3 separate regions of the Homo sapiens genome follow, and regions 1 and 2 are each linked to region 3. Evidence: promoter capture Hi-C in human tissues and cell types (Jung and others, 2019). All regions are on one chromosome and are shown on one strand. Each heading gives the region's core, a stretch centred on a gene start or on the middle of the fragment in contact. The rest is flanking DNA. Distances are from core to core; before and after follow the strand shown. Region 1 holds the start of LOC124907997 (a long non-coding RNA gene). Region 2 overlaps NCL (nucleolin). Region 3 holds the start of SPATA3 (spermatogenesis associated 3).

Region 1 (3,279 bases), core at 768-3,267, 420 kb before region 3:
ATGTATTCCAAAGGTAGCTTGGGGAAGGGACACAACGCGTCCTGCCTTTACATGTGCTGCTTCACCTTTGGAGCAGTAACATGGACACTTTTATAAGGTCGGGGGTGAGCAAGTATGCAAGGCAGGCGTTCCCCTGTTGCCCCGTATCTTATCTACTGGATAATTGAGTTGGTGCCTTCCCAGGCAGAAATAACTTGTAAAAGTGGCCAAGCGGGAATGCTTTCGACATACCCTCCTGGAGGATGAAGGTCACTTCCAGTTTGCAGAGCAGAAGTTCTAAGGTCACCCCATGGAGGTAAAAGTTCCGTGGCAGGTACGCTTCAGTCTGGAAATCAACTGTCAGCAAATCGACTGTCAGCTCTCAAGGAAAAGATCTGTCTTGGAGCCGTTGAAGAAATTGCCCTGAAGGGAATTACCCTGAAGGGAATGTCTAGGGGGAGGTGAACGGTTACATTTGCATTTCTGAAGGGCTGAGTAGGAAACGGGAAGGAGGGAAAGGGGAGAGAATAGAAAATAATAATTAAAAAAAAAGTAATTCATTCCGTTTTTCTTAGAAAAAATGGGAGCATTTGGTTACAAAAATACATAAAATCTAGCAAGAAACATTCGACTAGGTCTGCGGGAGCTGAGCTATCTGAGCTGAGCCTGGCCTCCCCATCAGCGCTTAGCAAATTGCAGGTGGTCTTAACAAATTGCAGGCAGTCATGGTGGACAGGCAGCTGTTTCCAGACTTGCCTCCATCCTCCAGACCCTAGCACGTGTCTGAGTGGTGGCTAACATGCAGCTTTTGCAGTCAGGCCACCTGAGAGCAATCTCAACCTGCCCCTTTCCAGCTAGGCAGCTCCAGTATGGGGAGTGGCTGTTTTATATTTCTGTCCTGCATCAGCCCCTGAGGCAGGCATCCCTGTACTTTCACTTCTGTGAGCCCACACATCTCCTTGCTGGTCGCAACCAGTTCGAGCAGACTTTCTTTTTTCCTTTTCTTTCCTTCTTTTTATTATTATTATTTTTTTTGAGACAGGGTCTCATTCTGTCACCCAGGCTGGAGTGCATGGGCACTGTAACCTCAACCTCCCAGGATCCTCCCATCTCAGCTCCCCTCCGCAACCCTCAGTGGCTGGGACTACAGGTGCTCATGCCACCATGCCTGGCTGATTTTTGTACTTTTTTGTAGAGGTGGTGTTTCACCATGTTGCCAGGCTGGTCTCAAACTCCTGAGCTCAAGCGATCTGCCCATCTAGGCCTCTTAAAGTGCTGGGGTTACAGGTGCGAGCCACCAAGCCCAACTGAGCAGAATCTCATGTCACTTGAAACCAAACATATCCTTACCATCGTTGGCTTTATATATTAAGATTTTATGAAAAAATGATTATTGTGTCATTTGTCTATGAGATCAGATACTAAACAATTAGAACAGCAAACTGTATCCTGCTATCCAAGGCCTTAGTTCTGACCTCACCAGGCCTCTGAGGGTGGGCCCCCAGTAGGGATTTTTGAGGTCCTGAAGGGGCTGCACTCACCTCCCTGGCCGGTGAAACAAGATCATTTCTCCTTCCCTGGTAGAGGCCCCTAAGGTGGCCCTGAGGGTCTCGAAGCCCCCTCACTCCCTCCGAGGCTGTCGGGATCTCGCACATTTCTCCTAAGCCTCAGGCCTGAGCTTGGTGGAAAGGCTCACGGAGGAAAGTCTTCCTTACACAGATGAGCCAGAGAAAGGAACGAGCAGCCCCTGGAATCTCAGTGCCAGGAAGCAGTTCCTGTTAACAGCTTGGTGTGGCGCTTTCCAGCTTAAATCCGCATAAAAAAGATGCCTTGGGGTACAAGTAATGGAGTTCCAGATTTCACACAACCTGCTCAAATCGTGCAGTCTCCCATCCACCTCAGCGTCACGATGCCCCCGGCGGTCAGTTGGGGGCGCTCCCTGCCCTCTTCTGGGATTGCCAGGGCGGGGACTCACCCAGCCCTCCAGCCCGGCCAGCCCCTTGCTCCTCGCGGGGCCCCGCCCCGACCCGCGGCCCTGCAGCCGGCACTGGGAGGTCTACGCCGCCTTACCCCACGCCTCGCGCAGCTCCGCGGGCTGGTCTCGAGGGGAGATGCCCTCGCTCGGGGCGCGCACCGGGTGGCGCCGAGATGCCCACCTCCTCCGCAGGCCCCCGGGATCCATCGGATGCCACCCCCACCACACACACAGGGCTCCCCCACCCTCGACAGCCGAACGCGTTGTCCCCTGCACAGCCCAGGCGGGTTCCGCGAGGGGCTCTGGGTCGCACCGCGCCCCGGGACGCCCGCGCCCACCCAGCAGCTCCTGGCTGCCCGGCGACGAGGAGCCGCGGGGGGCAGGCGGAGCCCGAGGGGGGCAGCTTCGCCATGGGTGAGGGCAGGGATTCCACGCATTCCTGTGGGATTCGGCCGCACCGAGGAAAAACAAAGCCAAGGTGATTTGTGATAGGTCACAGGCTGCACGGCAGGGTCAGTCAATCCCAGCCCAGGCCGGTAGTTCCCAACTTGAGTCACCTGGGAGCGATAAAAAATGCCTGGGCTCGCGCCCCACCCACTCACTCATTCGGATTCATTCTGTCTGGTTGCGATCTGGACTAGATATTTTCTCAAATTCCCGGGGGGCAAAACCCTCTAAAAGGATTGAGCTCTAAGCTTTGGCTCACTTTGGAAGGGTCTTCAGTGAGTATACAATGTATTCCAAGATTCAAGTTTTGTTTTAGAAATATAAGCAAAAATTGCATTCTGTTCGATAATGTATCTGTGTTCATTTTCACATAAAGGCAATTGGTAAAAGACAATTTTCAGAAAAAGGTAGATTCATGACCCTTGTTCAGAAATAAAAAATGAGCATGTATTAAAGATTTATTTTACTCATAAAAAGGACAAGGTAGATGTTATATCTGGTTCAAAGGAGACATCAAAAAGCACAAATTTATATGGAGTGAAGGAATTGAATTGCAAACAGCGGCAAACTGGTTTTTCCACCGTGGGGGTGTTGGTGGGGGGTGGAAGAGAAGTCAATGGAAGCTTCACCTGACAAGACAGTTTGCAAAGCCCTCAGTACTTGCAACTTAAAAAGAGGTGCAAAATAGCTCAAAGACCGTGAATGGGGCTGGAAGCAGACAGGTCTGGCTGTGCTTTAGATAATGTATAGTGTTTCACTGGAACAGAAAAGTTTTTCTTCACAATAGCTTAAATAACTCTCTGGAAACATTTATTTCTTACAGCCCTAATAACGCTGGGCTCCCCCAACCATCACAGTTTCAATCGCTCATTGGACAT
Region 2 (3,151 bases), core at 646-3,145, 460 kb before region 3:
TCTCCTGCCTAAGCCTCCCAAGTAGCTGGGATTACGGGTGCACTTCACCATGCCTGGCTAATTTTTGTATTTTTAGTTGAGATGGCATTTCACCATGTTGGTCAGGCTGGTTTTGAACTCCTGACCTCAAGTGATCCACCCACCTCGGCCTCTCGAAGTGCTGGGATTACAGGCGTGAGCCACCCTGCCAGTAAGTTTTAATAATTTGGTGTTAGGTGGGAGAATCGCTTGAACCTGGGAGGCAGAGGTTGCAGTGAGCCAAGTTCGCGCCACTGTACTCCAGCCTGGGCAACAGATTGAGACACCGTCTCAATTTAAAATAATGTTTATTTTCTTGGAAGTACCTGAAACTATTAGACCTGTCTAGTCATCATAGTGAATACTTTTATCCAGACAGGATTCTCCTGTATTAGTGCTTATAGGTGTTCTTTTGTCAGCTGCTACTGTGAATTCTTATAAGCAATTTAGCTCCATGATGAAGACCTCAAACGTGAATGTGCATGTCATATCTTCATGCTGAGACCTTGTTCTGTAGCTGCAGTTTGCAGAGCCTTGACTTTGTTTTGCTAATACTAGGGGTGCTTTTTAAAATGTGATCTTTGTTTGCACCATCACATTTGTCTAGAATACATATTGTGGATTTTGATTTGTGTTTTCACCTGTTGTAATTTTGCCCTCCTCTCCACCTTGAAGGAAATTTGGTTATGTGGATTTTGAATCTGCTGAAGACCTGGAGAAAGCGTTGGAACTCACTGGTTTGAAAGTCTTTGGCAATGAAATTAAACTAGAGAAACCAAAAGGAAAAGACAGTAAGAAAGGTATGTAAGGCTTTATGAGATTATGCAATGAACTCAGGAGCTAGACTGCTAGGGAAAATGCTTTGTAACCCATTTCCCTTGGTTTCCTCTTATTTTTTTAAATCATTTTTTTCCTTTGGTTTCCTCTTAATGTGGGAATTAAATGAGCTACAGTGTTTACAAGAGTACTTGGCACTGCTTGTCAGTGTTATAGTGTAAATTCCTGAGTTAGGCAAGCAAGAGCACTTTTATACAGAACAAGAATTATTAGATGCACCTAAATTAACGTAAAGGGATCTTTCTTCACTGAAACTAGATTAGGTCCCTAATTACTCCCTATATACAGTTGTAATGTTTTGAATTGGTACATTCACTTTTTTTGTTATGCGCGTCTACTCTAGGTTGAACTCCAGTGTACCTAACAGAGAGTTTGACATCAGCTGTGACAACATGGAGGGACCACTTGTGTGTTGACACTGCTATATCTCCATATTTAGCACCGAGCCTTGTACATTATAGGATCTCAAATTATTTGTTGAATAGAGCTATGTGTGTTTTTCCCCTCTTTTTGTTGTTGCCCCCCACCTTTGGTTTTTCAGGCCACAGAGCTCATTTTTGTTTTTTTAATCTAGAGCGAGATGCGAGAACACTTTTGGCTAAAAATCTCCCTTACAAAGTCACTCAGGATGAATTGAAAGAAGTGTTTGAAGATGCTGCGGAGATCAGATTAGTCAGCAAGGATGGGAAAAGTAAAGGGTATGTTCTGTCTATTGAAATGTAAGGGTTTTATTAACATTAATGCACTTTCCTGCTTTATAAAAGAAATATTGGTTTGATTTCCTTAGGCGTGTAATCTTGGACAGTTTAACCTGTAAGTTTGTGCCTCAGTAACCCATCTGTACCATGGGGATAATGTACTCATAGGGTGATTTTAAAAGACAAGCTAATACTTACAAAGAAGCAAGAAATGTGCCTATCTTACAATAAATACTTTGTAAGTAGTAGCAGTTCTTTCAGTGAGGTGAGGTTACTATGAAAAAATTCCAAGTATTTGTAAAACTAGTGGGAAGTAAGAGGGAAGCTCGAGTTTTGATTGAAAAGTGGCATAAAACTAAGGGCATTTATTGTACTCAGATCTGAAGCAAGTTCTGTGTTGCTGAGGTAAAAGCATTTGTGTTAATATGGTTTTAAAAACCATGAGTTCTTCTCCCTCCATTGCAGGATTGCTTATATTGAATTTAAGACAGAAGCTGATGCAGAGAAAACCTTTGAAGAAAAGCAGGGAACAGAGATCGATGGGCGATCTATTTCCCTGTACTATACTGGAGAGAAAGGTCAAAATCAAGACTATAGAGGTGGAAAGAATAGCACTTGGAGTGGTAAGAAATTAGGCTTGTTACAAGGTTTCAGAATTGGTGGAGGGAACTCCTTTGTGTCTTTGTATTTCATAAGTTTATAAATACTTTTTAATCAAAGTTACTCAAATGTAGGTGAAGATCAAGGACATGATACCCCAAGTCATACTCTTATTTGGAATAGTAATTTCCAATCTTGAATGAGAGCTCTAAAATCATTTTGCATTGGAATACAGTAGGCAAATCAAGCTTCCTTTGTAGGCATGTTTTATACTTTAAATGACTTGACCATGTGCGTTTTGAACTCAGATGATTCTAGGAAAACAGACCAGTCATCAGCCTATGTAAGAACAACCAGCAGGACATTGCAACACGTACTAGGTACTTAATATGTTGAGTAACAGAAATGGATTTAGCTTACGTCATGAGTATTTGTATATTAACTCAAGCACTGAAATTCTTAGGAATAAGATATTACTGTTGTGACCGAAGCTGGGAACCACTGTTTCAGAGTCTTAGGAATGTGGCATCTCTATTTGCAGGTGAATCAAAAACTCTGGTTTTAAGCAACCTCTCCTACAGTGCAACAGAAGAAACTCTTCAGGAAGTATTTGAGAAAGCAACTTTTATCAAAGTACCCCAGAACCAAAATGGCAAATCTAAAGGGTAAGATAATACCTTTGTATCATCAGTTATAGGCTATATATGTCTTAGAGGTCTAAAGGAACGTAAGGTCATGTGATCCTGTCAGAAAAGCCAAATAATTTTAGCTACGTAAATGAGTGTAAAATAAAGATCATCATTTAGGTACCAACTTGAGAGAAGGGGCTTGGCAGCATCATGTGACAGTGAAGGAGCATGTGCCTGGTAACTTACTCTAAGCATTAACTGTTCATCCTCAGGTATGCATTTATAGAGTTTGCTTCATTCGAAGACGCTAAAGAAGCTTTAAATTCCTGTAATAAAAGGGAAATTGAGGGCAGAGCAATCAGGCTGGAG
Region 3 (3,385 bases), core at 628-3,127:
TCCCTTCTCAGGGCTACCAGCGTCTGCTCAGGAGCAACCTGTTTGACTCCTATGAGCCTCAGTTTCCCCATCTATAAAATGGAGATAATATGGAAGAACTTTTATAGGATTATCACGTGTGAAAATTAAGACACCTGATCTGAATGCTAGGTACACAGTAAATGCTTAGTGATAATGTTAGTTTGCTATCACCATTATTGTTAGTAGTATAAACCAGCCCACCTCCTGAACTCCACTTGAATTCCCTCTACACAATCCAATGCTTATACAGACACTGTTTGGCTCCCAAGAAGACAGGGAACCACTTTTCCTGACAGCCATTCCATTTTCAGACAGAGCTAATTGTTGGGAAGTTTTTTATGTTGAGCCGAAGGCTTTCTGTCACTAATGTCTTCCATGGGTAAGATTGCTAATTTAGCAAATAAAAATATAGGATGCCCATGCAATACTGGGGACACACATACTAAAAATATTATTTGTTGTTTACTAAAATTAAAATTTAACTGAGAGTCTTGTATTTTGTCTGGCTATCCTATCCATGGGCCTGTATTTGTCTGTTTTCACACTGCTGATAAAGACATATCTGAGACTAGGCAATTTACAAAAGAAAGAGGTTTGTGGAACTTACAGTTCCACGTGGCTGGGGAGGCCTCACAATCATGGTGGAAGGTGAAAGGCACATCTCACATGGCGGCAGACAAGAGAAGAGAGTTTGTGCAGGGAAACTCCCTTTTTTAAAACCATTAGATCTCATGAAACTTATTCACTATCACGAGAACACCACGGAAAAGACCCTCCCCCGTGATTCAATCACTTCCCACTGGGTCCTTCCTACAACACCTGGGAATTCAAGAAGAGATTTGGGTGGGGACACAGCCAAACCACATCAGACCCTTAGATCTCTGAGGACAATAAGGAACAAGTCTATTCACATCTTCCACTTGACAGACAGACATCCTCCAATTCCTTCAATTGACTGTCATACACTAAATGGTCTCCCTGATCCTTCTCATCCTCCATCAACCCAGACTATCTTCCTTGGACTAGTTTGTCAGGCATCTTTTACAGCCCAAAAGGATAGCTTGATGAGGACAGAATAAAGCAGTATCATCACCTCCCTTATTCTAAACCATATACTTCTATAAATGCATCCTTGGTTTTTATTTTTTAGCAGTTGCATGGCACTGCTGATTCCTAGTGAGCAAGTATTACTATGGAACCAAGTTAAATGTTTATATGTATGTGTGGCTGTCTTCAGTGAGACTCAGGATGATGAGAAATGACAAAACCCAGGAATCCTGGTCTCTTGGGTAGAAACAAAAACAAAAACCTTCCCACTCTACAGCACAGCTCCAGGATACACGTTAACCATGCATCACTATCCTACAAGAACCAGCCTTTGGGATGACCCAGAACTCCATCAGCAGGAAGGCTGGAACTGCTGAAGCTAGAAGACAGCCCACCTGCTTTCCTGGATTGAGGGGCTGCCTTCACGTTAGCATCTGGAGATAAAAGGCAGCAAGAGGAGCGGCGGATTTCGGGTGCTGGAAGGGCTTGGAATGCTGGCTGCCGGGAGGTGGTTTCAAGGCTGGAATGCTGTGGTGTGGATTCAGGGCTAGGCTGCTGTGGTGTGGATTCAGGACTAGGCTGCTGTGGTGTGGATTCAGGGCTAGGCTGCTGAGAGGTGGAATTGGAGCTAGCATGCTGGGAGGTGGAGTCTCGGTGGCGTCTGGCCTCTGACCTTTTCTTCTTGACCTTCTTCATGGTAGATCCTCCCAACCTAAACGTGGACCTACATGGAGCTGCGTAATCTCCCGGCTCCCTCCTGGAGGGGCCGTTTGCCCTCTGCCCTAGGAGCCTGGCTTGGGCCTCCAGCTGGACCCAGGCCCCACAGAGAACAGTGACCCACACCTCCTGTGAGGTCATAAAAGCCAGGGTGGCTCCTATGGCAGGGCTTCAAGGGACAGTCTTCTCTGCAGACACCAGCCTGGTGTCCTCCTTCATCCCAGGCTGCCAGGCTAGGCAGGGGACAGCGGCTGCCCTGGTCCTCACAGCCCTGGCTACGGGGCTGGTGACAGCCAGATCCTCATGCTTCTGCGACCTGAGCGCTGCCTTCAGACACCTCTCTGCTGGCGTGTTCCTGGGTCCATGTGAGCTACCTGTTTTGCTCTAAGATACCCTGGATGTGACGCTCAGCTCTGTCACTGGCTTCCACATACCCCCTACTCCTACACCTCAAAAATCCATGTTCCCCACGCATTCATCTTCAGGTCAGCTTCCTGAAGATTTGGAGCTTCTTCGAAGGCTTTACCATGGCCCAGAGCCTGCTACCATCTCAGAGTAGCTTACCCCTTCCCCCAAAGCCTGCCCTCCCGCACTGTGGGAGGGGAGTTTGGGGGTTGACTTGACTTTTATAAGAACCTTTGCATTTGGCAGATAATTTTCCCTGAGAACATAACAGCTGTTCAGAAAACTAACATTTGTCTCAAACTCATGGCAATGGCAACCACAGACTATCTCCCAAACCCCAATTGGTTGGGTTAAACAGGTGACTGAATCTTTCTCTAGATTAATTAATTTAATGTGCTCATTAAATGTGATTTTTGTTTTAGGATGGAAGAAGGAAAAGTATTTTTAAAAGACAATCTGAAGCTCATACTGTGACTGCAACATAAAATGTGTTCACCTGAGGAGACTGCTTTCATCGCCAGTGTGTCACAGGTGGGTGAGTGTGGGACTGGCAAGCGCAGGAGCTCCTGCCCCAGCGGAAGGTTTAGAGCAGACCTATGCAGATAAAAAGGGCTTCGGTCACGCCTGTAATCCCAGCACTTTGGGAGGCTGAGGCGGGCAGATCACGAGGTCAGGAGATTGAGACCATCCTGGCTGACATGGTGAAACCCCGTCTCTACTAAAAATACAAAAAATTAGCCGGGCGTGGTGGTGGGTGCCTGTAGTCCCAGCTACTCGGCAGGAGAATGGCGTGAACCTTGGAGGTGGAGCTTTCAGTGAGCCGAGATCGTGCCACTGCACTCCAGCCTGGGCGACAGAGCGAGACTCTGTCTTAAAAAAAAATGGGGGGCTTTGGGCCACACAAAGCCAGACCCAACATGAACTCTGAAATGACAGGACATAGTTTAGGGCTTCTAGAGCCTAAAAATACCTTAATGATGACCTTTCCTCAGAACACTGAGGTTTAGCGAAATTAAGTTACTTTCCCAGGGTCACACAGCTGGCTGGGGGCATCGGAAGGACTAAATTCCAGTTTGGGGCTCATTATTTTCATGATCCCAGAAAACAATAGGGAGTCAGATAATTATACAGGCTTTGAAATAATGAATTAAAAAGTCCCCCAGTGGCCTGGTGCGGTGGCTCACGCCTATAATCC

The links. Contacts are between HindIII fragments. The study calls those that stand out against the background at their distance.
Region 1: a contact is called between a fragment that was not itself captured here and the fragment with the promoter of SPATA3 in region 3, in 1 of the 25 tissues and cell types used here (lymphoblastoid cells).
Region 2: a fragment that was not itself captured here is called in contact with the fragment with the promoter of SPATA3 in region 3 in 1 of the 25 tissues and cell types used here (lymphoblastoid cells).

What each region holds. Positions count from the first base shown.
Region 1 is chr2:231,411,167-231,414,445 of GRCh38, reverse strand. LOC124907997 (a long non-coding RNA gene) reads right to left here and starts at 2,150. Exons shown (of 2, transcript XR_007088118.1): 1 at 1,521-2,150; 2 at 1-470. RefSeq lists enhancers at 1-733, 2,828-3,279 and a silencer at 1,944-2,283. The HindIII fragment of the contact is 6,575 bases long and covers 1-3,279 here.
Region 2 is chr2:231,456,668-231,459,818 of GRCh38, reverse strand. NCL (nucleolin) reads left to right here. Exons shown (of 14, transcript NM_005381.3): 7 at 694-818; 8 at 1,430-1,553; 9 at 2,019-2,176; 10 at 2,695-2,818; 11 at 3,055-3,151. Among named protein-coding and RNA genes, the nearest start is that of SNORD20, 1.7 kb to the right of the region's middle. The HindIII fragment of the contact is 5,287 bases long and covers 1-3,151 here.
Region 3 is chr2:230,994,613-230,997,997 of GRCh38, reverse strand. SPATA3 (spermatogenesis associated 3) reads right to left here and starts at 1,877. Exons shown (of 5, transcript NM_139073.5): 1 at 1,464-1,877. The coding sequence starts at 1,764. SPATA3-AS1 (SPATA3 antisense RNA 1) reads left to right here and starts at 1,966. Exons shown (of 6, transcript NR_033879.1): 1 at 1,966-2,150; 2 at 2,613-2,721. RefSeq lists an enhancer at 1,833-2,366. The HindIII fragment of the contact is 25,386 bases long and covers 1-3,385 here.